7 separate regions of the Homo sapiens genome follow, and regions 1, 2, 3, 4, 5 and 6 are each linked to region 7. Evidence: promoter capture Hi-C in 16 types of primary human blood cells and fetal thymus (Javierre and others, 2016). All regions are on one chromosome and are shown on one strand. The core of a region is centred on a gene start or on the middle of the fragment in contact, and the rest is flanking DNA. Distances in the headings are between cores, read along the strand shown. Region 1 has its middle 31 kb from the start of LYPD8. Region 2 has its middle 11 kb from the start of OR14I1. Region 3 has its middle 15 kb from the start of OR2T27. Region 4 overlaps OR14I1 (olfactory receptor family 14 subfamily I member 1). Region 5 overlaps SH3BP5L (SH3 binding domain protein 5 like). Region 6 has its middle 2.6 kb from the start of OR2T8. Region 7 holds the start of OR2T4 (olfactory receptor family 2 subfamily T member 4).

Region 1 (2,700 bases), core at 68-2,567, 430 kb before region 7:
GACTAACACCCTCACATCTCTTCATCTCTTTGACCTGCGTCTATCCATATGTTATTAAGGGTGGGTAGCAATAAAACTTCTTGCCTGGGATGACAGTGATTAAGGAACAGCTTTGCCCCTGCCCAGGCTTCTCTTCCTTCCTGCCATTTTCTTTAGAAGGAGAAAATTGGATGTGCCACCCTTCACCATTCTAACCTTTCTCAAAAGACCCTTCTGAAGAAAATTATCCATGAACAGCCCAGAAGATTAGGACATTTGAATGTGCCCCATGTTGATGAATGCACCTGCTCAGTTGTATTCCACATTTGTGTTTCAACTGTTTCCACTCCTGGTCTGTGTCCCACGTCTTGAGGATTTAGAGAGTAGAAACATACCTTTTACTTTTGTGTAAGGTACATGCTGTGGCATAGAACCTTCATGGTCTTTAGCCAGCAGTGTCGATAGCAAGTGAGAGAAAATAGCTGTGTCACATATGTGAGTCAGGATAGGCTAGGTAATGGTGCTATCGCAAGTGACCCCAAGGTGCCAGAAGCTAAAACATTAAATATTTATTTCTTGTTTATGTTATCTGAGTAAGCTGCATTTCTACTCTGTGTCATCTTAACCTGGGACCCAGCTGGTGGAGAAGACTCTGCATGAAGAATCACTAGTTGTCATGTGGAGTGAAAAGGGAGCACCGCAAACCACAGACTATTCCTGAAAGCTTCTGCTACAAAGGGACACACATCACTGCCGCTCACGTTGCACTGATGGGAGCAAGTCATTTGACCATGTCTGACATCAATGAGGCAGGAGGGTATAATGTTCCCCAGGGAGGGTCAGTGTTTCTCTGGATATATTAATATCTTCTCCCAGACCCTGCATGGATACAAGAGCACACTCCTGGATATTCATCTCAGAACTGGGGAGATGGGACAGTGGCCAGGGATGGCAGTTGGTGGGGGTGAGAGCAACAGGCATTAGAGAGAACTAGGAAACCCAGATCAATTGTCATTCAGCTTCAGCCAAATTTTATATGTTTGCTGAGCCTCAGACTTCTTATCTGAAAAAGAGGGGATTGGATTAGACAAGTGTTAATGTTGATGCCAGCGGGAGCTGATTACAAGTATGTGGGAAAACCCAGATCCATTGGGAGGATAACTCAAGATAGCATAACATAACTGAGAACTCTCAGAAACTCTTCTCCATGCCCTCGCCACATGTGACATAGGGGTCCCTCCCCCTAGACCCTGGAATCTCAATCTGTCTTTATACCTCAGCTTATTCTTCACCCTAGCTTGGTGTCCCCTTTCTTCCTTTTCTGCTTCCTCACAACCTGTTTGTATTCTTCCTCAGAGTTGCCACAGCAAGAAGAATATCTTACAGTTTTCTGCACTCATGTCTTATCTTCCCAAATGCCCATATCCTTCTTGAAGGTTATGTCTACGTCTTTGACGTCTTCTCTTGAGCCTCCTGGCCTATTCTTCCCCACCTCTTACCGTACCTTTCACAGAGCTGAACTCAGTTGTAATTATTCAAGCACCAGCTACTGTTTGCATACATTATCTTGTTTAGTTTTCATGACATTGCTGTTAAAATATATTATGTTCCTCATTTACCCTGTAAGTTTTCTGTCAACCCAGTGAAATGTCAAATGTTTAGTACACACAATAAGGGACCAATAAGCAGCAGCTACTATGATTTTTGTTACTATTACTGATGAGGAAACAGATTTGCAAAGGCCGAGCAATATGCACTTGTTGCACAGTTAGTACGTGGGCACTGAGTTTGAATCCATCAGAGTAGTCATCAGAGCTAATCACTAAATGTTTATTTCTTTCCCCTCCTGAATGTATGTTGGATTGCACTTCCCCACCCTCTGTGTGTCGCAAAATGACTTTGACACTAGCTCTGGCAAGAAGTGACATTTGCCACTTTTTAGGGGAAGCTTTAGAAGCCACTTTAGGAGGTTCACCTCATCCTCTTTCTACTGCAGTTGTGAAAATGAACTCATGTGGTAAGGTAAAGCTCTACCAGTCAGAGGTGCTGAGTCATAAGGATGAGCAGGGTGCTTCTGTCAATGCCAATCAGACATGGAGCGTGGGGGAGACATTGTTAGGCCACTGGAACTTAGGGTGTGGAGGTTTCTACGGCAACATAATCTAATCCATGTGACTGATACACCAAGACATGATTGTACAATTATTGACATGTTCTTTTGGAAATCTGTGGCTATTAACTCCCGTCTCATCCACCAATCAGAGCTGATGGATGCGTTCTTTTTTATTTCTGTCAATACTGACCTTTTCATTAACAAAACCCTTTAACAATCAGGTAGTTGTTGTCAACAGGGAGGTGCAATCCCCTGGGAAGTGTTTTGGTGATTTATGGAGGTGTTTTAGCATGATTACAATTATTATTAGTGGCAGTGGTGACTCATGCAATTTCATGGGCAGGAAATAGGGATGCTAGACATCTTGTAACTTTGGGGATGGTCCTGAACAACAAAAGATTGTCCCAATCTTTCACAGACTGTAGAATGTCTAGGTGGACAAAAGTTATAATGATTGGGGCTTAGAACCTAAATCAGTCTTACATACGAATGCAAAGCATCTGGCAACATAGCTTTTGGGCTGAATTTTCCAAGAATGCAGCTACGCATATGTACAGAGAGGATTGACTTTTTTTTATTTTACTTTTTTTACTTTTTTAATTTTTTTG
Region 2 (2,700 bases), core at 136-2,635, 350 kb before region 7:
TGTTTAAGATTTAGCAGAACTTGGTGTCCTTTTTAGACCCAGGAGTCAAAGCTCTGTAACTCAATGTCACAATGACTCTAAAAGCCCATACGGAAAGATACACAAATGTAATAACCTTAAATAAAAAAATTCTTTTAATTTTGGTTTTTCCCCTAAGCAAACAAAAACTTAATAATAATAATAATAGCATAGAAATTGCTTTCACAAACCCTAAAATCTGTTATGACAATTACCAAAAGGCAAAAGAAAAGACCTGCTGTACTGCATACAGTATTCTGTTGGAAGAAAACATTTCCTTTAGACCTTTAAGAAAACATTGTTAGCATCAGGCCTCAACAAACAGAACTTGAGGAAAAGAATTTATATAAGCTGAAAAATGAGCTGGAGAGCATTACTATTTCTCACCCTTTAAAACTGCAGAGAAAACCAAAATGGCAAGATGCAATAAAATTTGAACTTTTGGTTAAAAAAATTAAATTCTTTCATAATTGAGAGTAAATCAATCCCCTAAGAAAATTTTATCATTCTAACTAATTAGTGTGTGTTTCCTTTTTTTACTTCAAGCCCAATCTCTAGATAGACTATCATAATTTTATTTTAATTAATAGACAACTTGATCATATAACAGTTTTTTTTAAGTAAATCCTCTTACTGTCACTTATGCAGACCATTCACGACATGCTTGAACGTTCAAATTCTTTTTTTTTTTTTTTTTTTTTTTCTCCTGAATATCCCTCTTCCTTAAACAACCAGTCATTTTATTCTAGGACTAAATATACCATACAAGATTCTTTCTCATATAAAATTATTTCTCTTTAAGCTTCTTACCAAAAAATACGCCCAAAGGGGTGAATGGTGCCTTTGTTCTGAATTCTTTAAAGGGGTTCAAGTCACTAGAAGTCTTCTCTAGATTTTGTAGTACTGCATATGGCAAAGGGGGAAGGAGGTATAGTGTGAAAGAAAAGTGAATGAAAAAATATTTGTTTTCTAAGACAGGAAGCAAGCTCAGAAACCAAGCACGTGTTTGTTTTTTTCCCTTCCTGTGCAGTGGAGAGGAATTTTAGCCAAATTAGAGAGGCTTTGTTACCCAAAATTTGAAATTCTCACTCAGATTTGACCAAATCTGATGGAAGAAAGTCTGGAAAAAACAATAAAAAAACCCAACAATATGATTACTGGGCACTCTAATGGTAAAGAGAAATTAGGAACAGCTGGTTGTTAACTTACTTAGGGATGGGTCTCAGGCTGAAGACAGCCTCTACCATCCTAGAGTCAGGAATAAAACTCAAACTCATCTTCCCTGTTGGGAGCGAGCTCCAACTCCATAGAGGAATTACCTGCCTTCCATCATCATGGAAGCAAGAAATCTTGCCTTCCTTGTTGGAAGCAAGTAAAACTTCAAAAAATGGAGTTGTACGGCAAAATAAACTTCAGATCTTAACCAAATTTTGGGAGATCAGGTATTCTCTGTGAAGCAGTATTGTTTGTCTGGGGTAATACCTGAGGTTTGTTGCCTGACACCAAGGAAATCAAGGACACAAACACACCAGAGTGAAGTTAAGTGTGGAAGTTTAATAGGCTAGAGAAAGAAAAAAAACTCTCTCTCCAGAGAGAGAAGGGGTTCCAAGTGGGTCTTCTGGTTTCGTGATGAAATGCATGTGGTTTTATGGATTAGCTTGAGGAGGCATAGTGTGATTTACACAGGAGACGAGAGATTGGGAGGAGCAGGTGTGCCATTTACATAGCACACAAAGAAGCTGGCAGCCCCATCCTAATCTTTTATTATGCAGATGGGTCCCCTACCTGGCTGGCACCATGTTGTCTGTTCCTTTACTGTACATGTGATTGAAAGAGAAAAGGGAAGATGGAGCCTCCATGTTGAACATGCCTGGCCCCCAGGTAGCCTTTTCCTATTGGCACAACTGCCAGCACTCACCCATGCAAGCTTCTAGCTTGCTTTTCCATGTCTGCAGCTTGATTTTTCAGGCTGCTCTTTGTTAGAAAAGAAATGATTTGGGGTCTGCTTTTTATTAAAAGCAAAACCTTGCTAAGGACTCTCTTACCCTCATTAACTGCCTAAATAATTTCTTTCTAGCTCCTGTATCATCTGGAGGGGGTGCTCCCAGACCTCAGCAAATTGTCCTATTGGTTTGAGCCATAAAGTTAGCTCATGCGGGTACCAAGCACCAATAGGAGATTTTTCAAAGGTCAAGGGGCATCTCCATTCAGAATCCCTCCACAGTTAACAAAATGTGAATCCTGTATATCTGAGATAGGTCTCAGTTAATTTAAAAAGTTCATTTTGCCAAGGTTGAGGATGCACACAAAGGACATAGCCTCAGGTTGTCCTGAGGACATGTGCCCAAGGCGCTCAGAGCGCAGTTTGGTTTTATACATTTTAGGGAGACATGAGACATCAATCAACATATGTAAGATGAACATTGGTTCAGTCTGGAAAGACAGGACAACTCGAAGCAAAGGCAGGACAACTCGAAGCAGGGAGGGAACTCCCAGGTCATAGGTAGATAAGAGACAAATGGTTACATTCTTTTGAGTTTCTGACTAGCCCCTCCAAAGACCAAATGCAATCAGATATGCATTTATCTCAGTGAGCAGAGGGGTGACTGAATAGAATAGGAGGCAGGTTTGCCCTAAGCAGTTCCCAGCTTGACTTTTCCCTTTAGCTTAGTGATTTTGGGG
Region 3 (2,700 bases), core at 170-2,669, 310 kb before region 7:
GAGCCTCAGGCAGACCAGTGGGGACCCTCCTGCCAGCGGGGACTCCCTGCAGAGCCTCAGGCAGACCAGTGGGGACCCTCCTGCCAGCACGGACTCCCTGCACAGCCTCAGGCGGACCAGTGGGGACCCTCCTGCCAGCGCAGACTCCCTGCAGAACCTAAGGTGGACCAGTGGGGACCCTTCTGCCAGCGGGGACTCCCTGCAGAGCCTCAGGTGGACCAGTGGGGACACTTCTGCCAGTGTGGATTCCCTGCAGAGCATGAGGTGGCACAGGACATTACATGATGAGGGAGCTGAGCAGTCTGATGTGCTAGCCAAGATCTCTCTTCTTCTTATAAAGTTAATCTCACTTCTATGATAATCCATTAATCCATGAATTAATTAATTCATTTATGAGAGCAGAGGCCTCACAACCAAATCACCTCTTAAAGGCCCCACATCTGAATACTGCTACATAAAAAATTAATTTTTTTAGAGTGTCATTTTGGTTTTAATCCACAAATTATTTTTCAAAATTTCTGTGGGTATATGTTAGGTGTATATATTTGTGGAATACATGAGATGTTTTGATACAGGCATGCAGTGTGAAATAAGCCCATCATGGAGGATGCGGCATTTATCTTCTTAAGCATTTATCCTTTGCATTACAAACAATCCAATTACATAGGTTCAGAAGTACTTGTGTAGGTGTCATATAGGTAAATTGCATGTCACAAGGGATTGGTGTACAGATTATTTCATCTTCCAAGTAATAAGCATAGTACCCTATAGGTAGTTTTTCTATTTGTGTATTTTTAATATTAAATCCCAATCTCTAGAAACACTAATACAAATAATTCTTTTTAAGTTATCGACAACTTAGTCACATACAAAATTGTTTCACAATGAGCAGGTCTATACAAACCTATCCAAAGTTGGAGGAAGCTGAGATGCTGAAGATAGAGGCTGATAAATACAGTTTCTTAGGCAGAAACAATTAATAGGGACTTATGAACAGAAGCCATGTGTGTGTCTCAGGCAGCAGTGAGATGAGATGGCAAATTCCTGTGCCATTAACCCCAAAACCCAGGACTTATATGCCATAGGGAAGGAATGATTCAGAAGGCATGTGTAGGACAATTGAAGTATGATAACATAAAAGTTGTTTGACCTAAGGGCAGGATTTATAATAAGTACCTGTTCTTACACGAGGAGCAATAAATAAACTGGAAATCTTAAAGGCCTTCCCCCCTGGAGTTAATCAGAAGCCAATAGGGCAGATCACCATTCAAGATGGAGTTACTTGAGCCTCCCATCTAAGAAAGAGTAGCTTTAGTCTCCAAAAACTTTTCTTTCATAAATTCTCTTTATAAACCTTATCATATCTTACACAGACTATTTATGACATACTTGGACTTTCTGTTTTGTCCAAAATTTCCCTCTTAAATAATGAGTTGTTTTATTTTAGAACTACATTTACTATACAAGTCTCTTTCTCATACAAAATTATACTTTTTACCCATTTTTAAAAATAAATACATCTTTGGATTTGTATAATAGCCTTTGAATTTGACAAAGATTATTTTCCTTTTAATAAGAACATATTTTTATGTCTTTATTATAATTTCTTTTCCATAAAAATATTTACTTTGGTACTCTCTAAATACAGAATTATATATTAACTAGAATTTTTATTCTTAGAACCTTAAATTTTTGTGAAAACCTAGGAAGTAGTAAATCTTGAATTGTCTGTCATATATCAGTATTTTATAGATGAGAACCATTTTATATTATTTTAGAAATATGTTTTTCTGTTTTTTAAATTAGAAATGATCCAGACACTTAATGAGTATTATTTACTTTAACTTTAAGATTTTAAATTATATGACAAGTTCATTTATAAGCATTTATGCCATTAAAGCTACCTAATTTATTTTTTAAAACAGTTTTCCTAGGTTACTTACAAAAACTGACATATTAGACAAAGCTAGTCATCATTAAAGTTATTTTTCAGCTAACCATTCTTATAGGCTGTGAATATTTCAGGTGTTTACCTACATAAGAACCAAATGTTAAATATATGTTTATTTGATTTTTTTTTGGCCAACCACTAAGGTTTTACCTATTTTCAATAAATCAACAGTATTAAATGTCTTATTTATAAAAAATTACACAATGATCATTAAGGGATGGGTTTTAAAGTTTTATAACCTTCATGACAAAGTTTGGTACCTTATAATACAAACACCGCTAAATATAAAACTATTTCACCAATAAATCCAGACAAAAATGTATGCTGACAATTCTGAAGGCATTTCAAATTTTATTTTACTAATAATTATAAAGCCAGCTTATTTATTGAAGATTTACTTGTCATGTGAACTTGAAGAGCATTTGGACTTTATGAGTAATCCTTTATTTTTAAGCCCATTTGATACCTTGCAGTTACAACATATAAGAAAATACATGTACATGTAACATAAACACAACTCAACATAGATACACAGATACAAAGATCCCATAGGTTTTATTTCAGAACTCTAGTCACAAGACAGCAATACAGATTCACCAGCTTGCAAAAGATGGTTTAATTTAAACAATGGGTTTTATCTCAAAACCAGTAGAAAAGCAACAGTACATTTAAAACAGAAAAATAAAATAGAGAAATTGAGAATTTAGGAGATGCTATATTTAATTCTATAGTTGCAGGTCAACTTTGAG
Region 4 (2,700 bases), core at 48-2,547, 330 kb before region 7:
TTTTTTTTTTTTTTTTAAAAAGTTCTGGACTTTGATTTCTGTTAAAATGCAGAGCATACCAGGCAAGTTAATAGCACTGTTCTTAGCTATTCATAGTGAGAGGAACGACGATTTTCCCATCCTTTTTTTTTTTTTAAATGAGCTTTGATTGAGAAAAATCAGTGGGGCTGGGTTTGGGCTCTAGAGGAGATAAGATAGGATAGAGTGGAGAAGACAGAGGATGGGGAAAGGAGAAGAGAACTTGAAGATTGGAAGCTCCAAGATAAACTTCCACATTTTACCTAAGGCCTGTCCTCAAAATAAATAAAACAAGACTTTCTGTAATGTTTTATTAGGTGTGGAAAGCAGAAGAGAAGAAAATATATCAAGAAAAAACTAATTTTATGTAAAATTATGCTGAACTCTTTTATCTTATCAAAAATCCTAAGTTGGCTCATAATGAATTCTTACTAAGTGGTAACTATTTTTACTGTGATGCTGGTCCACCAGTATGGGGCAGGGGGAAAGGACAGGTGGGTGGTGAGTCTATTTTCAGTCTGCCCTTCTCTTTCTCATCAAAGGAAAGATGAGAACTTTGAGAGGCTGAGGGAACCAGGAAAGGTGCAAGGAGGTGGCCAGGAATAGTCAATGCTCCTGGCCGTGAATCAGTACACCACCCAGGTGACGTGGGAGCAGGAACAGTCAGTGCTCCTGGCCGTGAATTAGTACACCACCCAGGTGACGTGGGAGGCTGGCTTGGGAGGTGATGCAGGATGCCCTGGCAGCAATGGGAGAAATGTTAAAATGATTATGTGGCACTAACTGAATGACTCCTCCCGATAAGCAGACCCAGAACATCTTACTTCTGTGAACAACCAGGGAGAGTTAGAGGCTGCTCACACAGTACCCTATAACCTTCAGGGAAATCGGGGAAGTAGAACTACTTGGATGAGGGCTCATGATTCACGTTTCACTGGTGAACATTTTCTCTCCCCACAATTCTCCCAACATGAAGTGGTCTCTGGAGAAAGACAGACAAACATTAAAGCTCTCTTTAATGAGAGCTTATTACATGCCAGGCATTGTGTCAGCCCTTTACTAGCTCACATGTTCCTTACAACTATAATAGGCAGGAACCAATATTCTTAGTACTCTAATAAGGATACCTAAGAACAGATAAGCTCAGCTGCTTTCCTGAGGCCAGGCAGTCAGTTAAGTGGTTGATCAGAAGGCAACACTCAGGACTGTGTCCCCAGCACTGTTCTGTAGACTGTAAGCATTATGAGGGCAGGAGCCGTGTCTGCTCTTTCCTTATGCCGTGCTGATGAGTACACTGCCCAACAAAGAAAGGTGATTGGAGGTCTGCAGAATGCAAAGGGGAATGTGGCTGGGAACGCGAGAATGAAGGCAGAAATGCCGGAATAAAGGCTGGACTGGGGTAGAGAAAGCAGGTGGGGATTCAGAAATGCGGGTGGGAATCAGAGCAGGGATGTGGGAATGCGGAAACGCAGGTGGGAACGATGGGGAGAAAGTGGCAACGTTGGGGGATGCAGTTGGGAATGCAGGAATGAGGGTGGAAATGTGGGAATGCAGGCTGGAAGAGTGGAGAGTACAGGAATGCAGGAGGGAATTCACGAATGCAGCAGGAACCTGGGAATGCGGGAATGCAGAGAGCGACGCTGCGGGAAATGCGGGAGGACCCCAAGCCATCCGCTCACCTGTGAAGAAGGGCATGAAAGTAAGGCTGCAGGCCAAGAGGAGCCTGCCCGCCACCGAGGGACGCGTGGCTGAGGCTGCGGCCGGCCCCGTCGCTCCGTCTGGAAGAGAGGAGCCAGTGAGCTCAGTTCCGCGAAAGGGACACGCCCAGGCGGCCGGGCCCGCGCTCCCGCGCCACGCGAATGGCCTTTCCGCTGCTGGGCGAGCGCCCCTCACAGCGCCCCCGGATGCTGGGTGGGCCGCGCTGTGAGCTCGGCCTCTGGAGGCACCTGGGACTCGGAAACACTGCCTAGCCTAGAGACTTGTAGGCCCGAGAGAGCCTCTGGCCTGTCCGCTCCTTTCCACAGCGCGCTGTGGGCCCGCGGGAGCAGCTGGACCGGCAGCTGCGTCCTGAGGTGGGCGGGGTGGCTTGGTGAACCCGTACCTGACGCCGGGCGGTCCGGGACAGGCGGGTTGGCCGGGCTAGGCCGGAGGGCACTGCGCATGCGTCGGCCTCCACAGTCCCTTTGGCCTGCCCCATTGGTCCTCACTTCCCGCTCTTCCCGCCCTCTGGGAGCCTTGGCCAATGAGATCCTGGTGGCTCCCGGCTCACGTGACTGGAGAAAGCCTGGTGGGCTAGTTCCACAGTTCTGACGATTGGAAGAACTTGGAGGAGCTGGAATGTCTGTTTTTCCGATTCTTTGGTTCTCACCCCACCCAATTAAAGATATGCTATTGTGCCTCACCCTCTTCCCTACCTAGTCTAAGCATTTTTGAGGAAAGGGTACCTATATACTTAATTCTCTGACGGGAACATTCTACCCTACCAATACCCTCCAAGTCATCAATGCATCTAGTGCAATTCTGGCACCTCAGAATATTTTCTAACATACTCACACCTCCTTGAGACTGAACACTTTGAAAGGACAGGGACTGTGTATGTATGCATGATCCACATACTTCCAGCCTTTAGCACTGTACCTGGGACATAAATGCATTGTTAGTGTGTGTTGAATGAATGAAGGG
Region 5 (2,700 bases), core at 199-2,698, 450 kb before region 7:
AGCCAAAATGGGATTACACAGTATGTGCTATTTTGTTCTTTTATTAGCATTATGACATGGTTCCATGTCAATAACTATACATCCAAGCCGTCATTTTAAAGGACTGATTAATATTTTATTTTTTTAAGAAATGGGGTCTTGCTCTGTTGCCCAGACTGGAGTGCAATGGTGTGATCATAGCTCACTGTAACCTCAAACTCCTAGGCTCAAGTAATCCTCCTCCCTCAGCCTCACAAGTAGATGGGCTCACAGGCAGAAGCCACTGCGCCCAGCTTATTTTCTTATATTAGATGTACTATTATTTATTTAACCGATGTCCTATAACTGAAAAGTTAGGTTTGTTTTGTTTTTTGCTTGGTTGGTATGGCTATGATGACTGTCCCTGAGCACTTGTCTGATTACTTCCTTCAGCTTGCCTGCTGAACATGGAATTGATGGTCTCAAGGTCATCTTTTCTGTAAGACTCTGTCTATGTTGCTAACCACCTTACACTAAAATGGTTTGTGTTTTCCTTTGTTTTCCCTAGGGGAAAAGGCTAGCAGCCTTTGGGAGTGCTGGATTTCACACATCTACCCTCCACTGGCAAAATTTTTATTTCTTCTAGTCCATATCCTTATGAAATATTCTTTATAGAATGTTGCTTCCTTGGCATTTATCCTCAGCACAGTTTGGGAAATGAAGCCGACATTGCTAGTAGGCCTTCCTCCTTCTCTTATCCTCACGTCTATTATGGGTCTCCATGGGCAGCTGGGGTCCCTCAGGGTTCCCCATCCTGATATCCCTCTCCCCCCAGGCTCAGCAGGAGACACAGAAGGCAGCGCTGCGGTACGAGCGGGCCGTAAGCATGCACAACGCTGCTCGAGAAATGGTGTTTGTGGCTGAGCAGGGCGTCATGGCTGACAAGAACCGACTGGACCCCACGTGGCAGGAGATGCTGAACCATGCTACCTGCAAGGTGAGCCGGGCGGTGCCAGCAGGTCCCCTTCGCTGGTTCTCGTCCATCCTTTGCTATGTCTTTATCACCTCACCTCCTCATTCTTCCCTCTATTCTAGCCTTCTTTCAACTTTGATTCTGTTTCAGGCAAAACCTGTTCCTAGTTTTCTGTTCTGTTTGGCCTCCATTGCTTCCCATATTCCATTTCCCTCTGACTTAGAATGTCATCCCGGGCTCTTCTTGAACGTTTGCCTCCAGGTGTGGGACTAACCCAAACAATTCATCCCTGGTGGATACTGAGGATTCAACATTCACATTTTATTATGTTTAGCTGTGTGACTCCTCGCTTCTGTTTTCAGAGTCTGCTCCCTTTCCTGCTTTTGAGCTCTGACAGTACACCTCGAGTTTTGAAGTATAATTTATGTATCATTTCCAAGCTCCTGAAAGGGGACTGGGGAGCGGAAGGATCTCTGCCGTTGGCCCTGTCTGCCACCTTCAGCTTGCACAGGGCAGGTGTCAGCAACTCGAGGGGGTGTTTGTGGCTTGTGATTCTTCATCTGCCCCTCACACAGAACAGGCACCTCACTTCTACTCTAGAGCTCATGCAAATGAGAGCACACAGCACGGGGGGAGGGGTTAGGGGATGGTGTATAGTGTAGAGCTACACCTGAACAGGGAGCAGGTGAGGGCTCCAGCCGCTTTGTCTACCAGGACAAGTGGGCCAACTGTACAACACCCTGAGCAGAAGCACGCCAGAGCCCCATCCAACCTCGGCCCACTTGTCCTGGACGGTGCCCACATAGGGTGTGGAAACCTGGAGAACCCAGCGCACAGCTGTGGCTCCCCACACAGGCTCTTCTCACTCCCAGATCCCTAACCATTGGCGCTGAGGGCTCCCTGAAGAGAATGGCTGCTGCAGATGTGTGATGTGCTGACAGACATTCCCCTGATGCTCTCAAGTGGTTGAGTGGGCACCAGCATCCCTTTCCTGGCAGCAGCAAAGCTGAGTAGCCAGTGGTGCAGGTGACACTAGGCAAGAACATGGGGAAGACGTGGCTCAGAGGCATGTGCCTGTGATGTGGTCCTCGACGGTCAGGCAGCAGATCCAAGAGAGACAGAAATAAGCTGTCTTGAGGCTCATAGACCCCGTGTTCCCCTGCGTGTCTCGGGCTCTGTACACAGTTGGGGGTTTGCAGAGGATGTTCCTGTTTGGGTTCCCCCCAGGGCGTTGTTCAGATTGGCAGCCTGGGGCAGATGCCAGAGACTGAAGCATGGGTCCTGGCTCAGTGATGTGTCCTCTGGGCCAGGTGAATGAGGCGGAGGAAGAGCGGCTTCGAGGTGAGCGGGAGCACCAGCGAGTGACTCGGCTGTGCCAACAGGCTGAGGCTCGGGTCCAAGCCCTGCAGAAGACCCTCCGGAGGGCCATCGGCAAGAGCCGCCCCTACTTTGAGCTCAAGGCCCAGTTCAGCCAGATCCTGGAGGTAGCTGAGTGGGTGAGGGGGAGGAGGAATGGGTAGGTGGGGGTGCAGGCTGGAGGGGATGCTGGTCGGCCTCTCTGGGCCATCTTGGTGAGGTGGCCAGGGTGAGGCCTCCGGCTAGCGGTGGGGAAGGGTGGTGGCACACATGTTCCAAATGACCTTGCAGGAGTGAGAGGCAGGGATGGGGGCTGGTGATGGGGGCTGGTGACGGCGAGAACGTAGTTGGAAGAAGGGAGGTAAACAAGAGGAAAAGAACTGGTGGAAATCTGGGATGGGGAAGAAGAACCA
Region 6 (2,700 bases), core at 171-2,670, 440 kb after region 7:
GCCATTAACGTTGCTCCCACTCACTTCAGCTGTATGTTTAAGTATCATTTTAATGGAATGTTTCACGACAGATGTTAGTTTTTTTTATTTTGGTAAGGTAAACATATATAGCATAAAAATATAGCAATTGCAATTAATTAGCCGCTTAAATTGTGCCAGACTGGTTCATATGTTTTCAGAGAATAATCTCAACAACTTGCATGACTTTTCAGTTCAGGAAATACATTTTCTTATTATGAAGTTCCTACTATGGTTAAATAGTTTGTAAAATTTGATGTCATTAGCTTGTACCTTTTCAGTGAAAATAGATAATATTTCTATTCTTTATGTTTATGTGGAATAAAAATTCTTTATTTCCAGGTGTATAAAAATTATCAGTTTGTATCAGTCTAACTGGTCATCATGCCATAGCATTCAGATTATTTCACGAAATGATTAATTAAATGTGTTAAATAAAATTAGTAGATAACTGTATTTTTCTACGATGTGATAATATTAAATTATTTGCTTTATTGAAATTACTGTCTATATTTTTATGTTACAAAGCTAAGATAATTTGCCACTAATTAAAATGTTTATAAACCTACAAAAATGATTATTTGGGATAATTTTTTTTAAAAATTGGCCATGGATACAAAGAACAGTTAAATGAAAAATGAAGAATTAAATAATCTTGCTAATAAAATGTCTATAATTTCATTTAACAGAGGGTTGAAAATTCAAGATTGACTAGTGTAGAAAGAAGTATGATAAAGTATTACCCTGAAAAATAAATATTTTCCTTTTCTTTCTTCACTATAGCTTAGAAAGCTAGAGAATTTTGAACTATATTTTCTTCTGTCCCCATAGTTTCTTACTTAGAATGGTGATAAAATGTGGACATTTTTACTTTAAATCACACTGATCTCTTTTGCAATGCTAGTAGAAGGCACGTATATATCCCTTCCTTTTTTCTCATCAATAATTCGTCAAGTAATCACAGAACACTGAGAACAATGCCTCTAACATTCCATTCTGTGCTTTTCTGATCCCTGTTGCCAAAACTTAATAGTAAAACTGTAACTCTCCTCCCCATGATACTAAAATGATTAATCAATTTGTCCTGTCAGAAAATAAATTGGAAACAGCCAAATCATATATTTGACAAAATTGACAGGTTATTACAGGAATTTAACCTGATGACTGTGTCAGCTAGCAACTTTTGATTCTTCAGGTTGTAGAATGGATAATAGAATTTTATTTGTAAAATACGTAAAGATATATAGCTGTGAATTATCTAGAGTTCAAACTTTACAGGAAAATTATTAAATATTAAGTGATTAGTATTTACAGAATCACAGATTTTCTACTTACAGAAGATAAAAGTGATGACTCCTCCCAAAAGGCTGGATCCTGTCTGAGCAGCATCGAGAAAAGCTCTTCCAGCCTGGCTGTGTTGGCTTCACTTGTATCAGTGTCTACAGTCTACTGTTTAGGGGTGTGACCTAAATCAACTCTGATTAATAAACCAGAGAGGCATGAGCTTGCCACTTTGGCTGCCAAAGATGTTTAATTTTCAGGGACATTTTATAAATACCCATAATTTTAATATACTTCCAAAATGCTTTTGGAAAGCTGCGATTTATTGAAAGAAGAGAGAATTATTTAGGAGCAAAAATGAAATGTAAATAGATGTGCATGGAAAAGATGATGTTGAAAAATACATTAAGGGGCGAGGTAATGTGGCTCTGGCGTTACTTGTGTGTAGTTTAATAGGATGGGAAGATTAAACAGTGTGATATTGAAAGACCAGCTCTTGTCAAAGAAAGTAGTTGAAATAAAAAGAAACCGTGGTAGAATCCATGGTAGTTTCCTTATTGAACTAAACTTGACAGAATCTCTGCTGCTTTATAAGTATCAATATTTTTGCATCTGTGTGATATAATTGTATTTTTTAATATTTTGTGTGTTTGTATCTATGTAATAAAATCAGTGATAGCAACAATAGTAACAACAGATTGTATTCACTGTGCCAGGCAGTTTGCGGTTTGATTTTATCTGGGGCTGCCTTCTATGATTGTGTTATTTGTTCTTAATATTTTCTACTGTCAAGCACCCTTGGGATCCTGGCTCCAGCTTTTGCAAGTTTAGTGGACTCAGGCTTCACTGCCAGTATATATAAATCTCAGCCTCCAAAACTGTAAAAAAAAATATATTTAAACAAAATTTCTCATGGAATAGATCATGGGGAAAGCTGCTCCTAGACAAAACGTGAGATATTGTAATTGCTTATTCCAAGTGAAGTTGTAATCACCATTGTTTGTGTTTAGAAGGCAAGCCCATCATAGATTTTAGTGACACCTCTGCCTTTGCATGTTGTATCTTACTGAAGTGGCTAATCCTACTCTGATTTAGAATGTTATTGATCACATGCAGTCTACAGTTAAAGTCAGGTTATCTTATTTCCTGTGGAAAAAAACAAATTCCTGGCTGAGTGCAAGCAGTAGGTTGTAGATATTTAGTATATCAAGTAACAAATAAAACTTTCAATGAAAGTTTACCTATCACTTATGATAAAAGTTTTATCTTTCCATGTTCTGAACACTGATGTCTCTGGGGTCCCAGGAGTATCAATACAATGGTGTAGTAACACAGGTGGCTACTGTCCAATGGGGGAAGTAGCCTTTTGCCTTAAGTAGATAAATCTCTCTGAAGGACTCT
Region 7 (2,700 bases), core at 36-2,535:
CTCTCAATTTTATGCCTTATAACCTTTATCCTCTAAGTAGTATCATTATGTATTCCCAGAATATGAAAATATCCTATAGAATTAGAAAGTAGTTATGAACTTCAGTAACTGTAACATCAATATAATATGACTGAATAATGCATTTTGAAGTGAGACGGAGTGTAAATTGAAAAGTTTCTAGTACAGGAAAGCGATTTCTAAAAGAGGTGTGAAAATGAGATCAAACACCATGGCAGTCTTGGAGTCTGGGAAATAACACTGGTATAACATTCTCATATGTGAAGTGCAGAGAGAAGGAAAAGTAAATTACTCTCAAAATGGTCTACTCCATAGCTTTTTGAAAGGCAGGTTCCACTGTTAACATTTTCTTCAGAGCCCCCATGACATCCTTATTCCTAAGACTATAGATTAAAGGGTTCACCACTGGAGTGAGGATGGTATAGAAGACAGATACCATCATGTCCTTCTCAGGGGTGTGGTAGGAGCTGGGGAGCATGTAGGTGTAGATGGCAGCCCCATAGAAGAGGATGACCACAGTCAGGTGGGAGGAGCAGGTGGCAAAGGCCTTTTTCCGGCCCTCTGCTGAGTTCATCCCGTGGATGGTGAGGAGGATGAGTAAATAGGAGCTTGAAATGATCACCACAGGGATGAGGAGCATGAGGACACAGCACAAGTACATGAAAATCTCATAGAGTGAGGTGTCTGAGCAGGAGAGATTCAATACAGCAGGAACTTCACAGAAGAAATGATGAATCTCCCGGGATCCACGGAAGGGGAAGGTCATGGTGATGGGAGTGAATGTGAAGCCATCCACTGAGCCCAGGAACCAGCAGCCTGATGACAGGAAGAGACACACCCTATGGTTCATGAGGACAGGGTAACGGAGAGGATGGCAGATGGCCACGTAGCGGTCATAGGCCATGGTGGCTAGAAGGAAAAATTCTGAACCTGCTAGTGTCACGTAGAAGAACATCTGCATCCCACACTCAGGGGCTGAGATCTTATTCACACCCATGACCTGGTCCAGGAGCATCTTGGGCACAGTGACAGAAATGTACGCCATGTCCATGAGAGACAATTGACTGATGAAAAAGTACATGGGGGTGTGGAGGTGGGCGTCACAGTGTATCAGAAGGATCAGGACAGCATTTCCAGACAACGCCATCAGGAAAACCACAAAAATGACCACACAAAGTAGTGCTGGATGTTTGGATTGTCTGAAGAGTCCCAACAGGATGAAATCCGACCATCCAGTGTGGTTGGCCATCCAGGTGATATTGGCCATTGGATGTTTGGATTGTCTGAAGAGTCCCATCAGGATGAAATCCGACCATCCAGTGTGGCTGGCCATCCAGGTGATGTTGTCCATGAGGTTTCACCTAGGCCACAAAGGAAAGCTTGGGGTTAAAGTAATTTGAGCCTCTGAAACAAATTGTGTGTGTGTGTGTGTGTTCTAACCAAAGAAAGGCCCATGGGCCTGTAGATTTGGGTGTTATAAATTATCTGCAATTCAAAAAATTTACCAGGAACTAAGAATTCACAACTGTGGATCAAAAGGGTGATTTGTAGTGAAGTTGCCACAGTTCTGAGTCATGAGATTTCCCGATGAGAGTGTCTGTTATAAACAAGTCCTGGAAACTGGCAGTGTCACTGCCTTATGCAGACATGAATAGTGAATTATTGAAAACAAAGGAGAATTTTGTCCCCCTGTTTTTAGAGTTGTTTAGAGAAGTCTAAAGTGAATTACATTCTCTGGTTTAAGGATCCATCTGGAATCTTAAAAACTCCCAAAAGTGTATTCCATATAGGAATGATTTAGAACATGACTAAAATATCACTTGTGGAAAATCCATACCAAACATTTGCACCCTTCTACCCACAGTATTGGACAATGCTGTGAGGCTCTGTGGTTTCGTGGAGCAAAACCCCACACATCCCCATGAGCAAGCCAGGGTCCTCCTACACACCAGACTCCTCAGAAACCAGAGTCGCATGGGGTGAGGAGCCCAGGGACCGTGGCTGGACTGCAGGGTGGACCCAGCTTCCCCTCTACCTGCTATTCCTCTGTTTACTGCACATAAAAATAGATGGTAAGAAAAGGTTTGACCTCAGGGTTGATGAAGATTAAATGCAGAAAAGTAATGAAAGTGCTTAGAATATTACCAGTTACAAATGAACAAATACATACACTGTCAAAGAGTTAATATCTACACAAATTATTCTGCAGACTGTATTACTATAATCATCTTATGATATGAGCTTCATTACTTCAGTTTGCTGATTTTATCATTTAGTCAGACTTGTAAGAATTTGGATTTGATAATTTCTCTAGTCCCAGACAACTTGTATGTATACAGTTTACATTTATTTTATATAAATTTATAGATATGCATTTTTATATATGTGCAGATTTACAAATATAAGAATACATTGTATATGCATATTTACAAATAGAAATGCATATATTAATGTAAGGTATGTCTCTTATTTTCATGTTGAGCAGAGATTTATGCAGAATCCACCTTCTTTGTGACTAGTGCATGCTTCTCCAAGCTTAACTCCTTAAAGCTCCTGTCATTCGCATTAAATCTCAGGGGGGCATAACTGGGATTTAGAAACTCCCTGCTATTTACCAGGTAAGGCTTTTGGTGTTTTTGCAAATATCTGCTTTATTGCCTGCTACAGTGAATTTTTTCACGG

Evidence for each region. Contacts are between HindIII fragments. The CHiCAGO score rates a contact against its expected background, and 5 or more counts as called.
Region 1: a fragment that was not itself captured here is called in contact with the fragment with the promoter of OR2T4 in region 7 in 6 of 17 cell types (naive CD4 T cells, total CD4 T cells, activated CD4 T cells and 3 more); the score reaches 11.1 in naive CD4 T cells.
Region 2: a fragment that was not itself captured here is called in contact with the fragment with the promoter of OR2T4 in region 7 in 5 of 17 cell types (naive CD4 T cells, non-activated CD4 T cells, naive CD8 T cells and 2 more); the score reaches 8.1 in naive CD4 T cells.
Region 3: a contact is called between a fragment that was not itself captured here and the fragment with the promoter of OR2T4 in region 7, in 4 of 17 cell types (non-activated CD4 T cells, naive CD4 T cells, naive CD8 T cells and 1 more). The highest score is 7.2, in non-activated CD4 T cells.
Region 4: a fragment that was not itself captured here is called in contact with the fragment with the promoter of OR2T4 in region 7 in 4 of 17 cell types (naive CD4 T cells, naive CD8 T cells, activated CD4 T cells and 1 more); the score reaches 7.1 in naive CD4 T cells.
Region 5: a fragment that was not itself captured here is called in contact with the fragment with the promoter of OR2T4 in region 7 in 2 of 17 cell types (naive CD8 T cells and naive CD4 T cells); the score reaches 7.4 in naive CD8 T cells.
Region 6: a fragment that was not itself captured here is called in contact with the fragment with the promoter of OR2T4 in region 7 in 1 of 17 cell types (M2 macrophages); the score reaches 5.3 in M2 macrophages.

What each region holds. Positions count from the first base shown.
Region 1 is chr1:248,785,623-248,788,322 of GRCh38, reverse strand. No RefSeq gene overlaps it. Among named protein-coding and RNA genes, the nearest start is that of LYPD8, 31 kb to the right of the region's middle. The HindIII fragment of the contact is 1,224 bases long and covers 706-1,929 here.
Region 2 is chr1:248,712,410-248,715,109 of GRCh38, reverse strand. No RefSeq gene overlaps it. Among named protein-coding and RNA genes, the nearest start is that of OR14I1, 11 kb to the right of the region's middle. The HindIII fragment of the contact is 1,125 bases long and covers 823-1,947 here.
Region 3 is chr1:248,668,856-248,671,555 of GRCh38, reverse strand. No RefSeq gene overlaps it. Among named protein-coding and RNA genes, the nearest start is that of OR2T27, 15 kb to the right of the region's middle. The HindIII fragment of the contact is 4,700 bases long and covers 1-2,700 here.
Region 4 is chr1:248,691,216-248,693,915 of GRCh38, reverse strand. All of the region lies in intron 3 of OR14I1 (olfactory receptor family 14 subfamily I member 1), which reads left to right. Among named protein-coding and RNA genes, the nearest start is that of OR14I1, 10 kb to the left of the region's middle. The HindIII fragment of the contact is 9,246 bases long and covers 1-2,700 here.
Region 5 is chr1:248,812,704-248,815,403 of GRCh38, reverse strand. It overlaps SH3BP5L (SH3 binding domain protein 5 like), which reads left to right. Exons shown (of 7, transcript NM_030645.3): 5 at 794-955; 6 at 2,242-2,415. Among named protein-coding and RNA genes, the nearest start is that of SH3BP5L, 12 kb to the left of the region's middle. The HindIII fragment of the contact is 6,170 bases long and covers 1-2,700 here.
Region 6 is chr1:247,916,320-247,919,019 of GRCh38, reverse strand. No RefSeq gene overlaps it. Among named protein-coding and RNA genes, the nearest start is that of OR2T8, 2.6 kb to the left of the region's middle. The HindIII fragment of the contact is 3,832 bases long and covers 1-2,700 here.
Region 7 is chr1:248,360,250-248,362,949 of GRCh38, reverse strand. It overlaps OR2T4 (olfactory receptor family 2 subfamily T member 4), which reads right to left and starts at 1,285. Exons shown (of 1, transcript NM_001004696.2): 1 at 323-1,285. The coding sequence starts at 1,285. The coding sequence ends at 323. The HindIII fragment of the contact is 1,770 bases long and covers 1-1,399 here.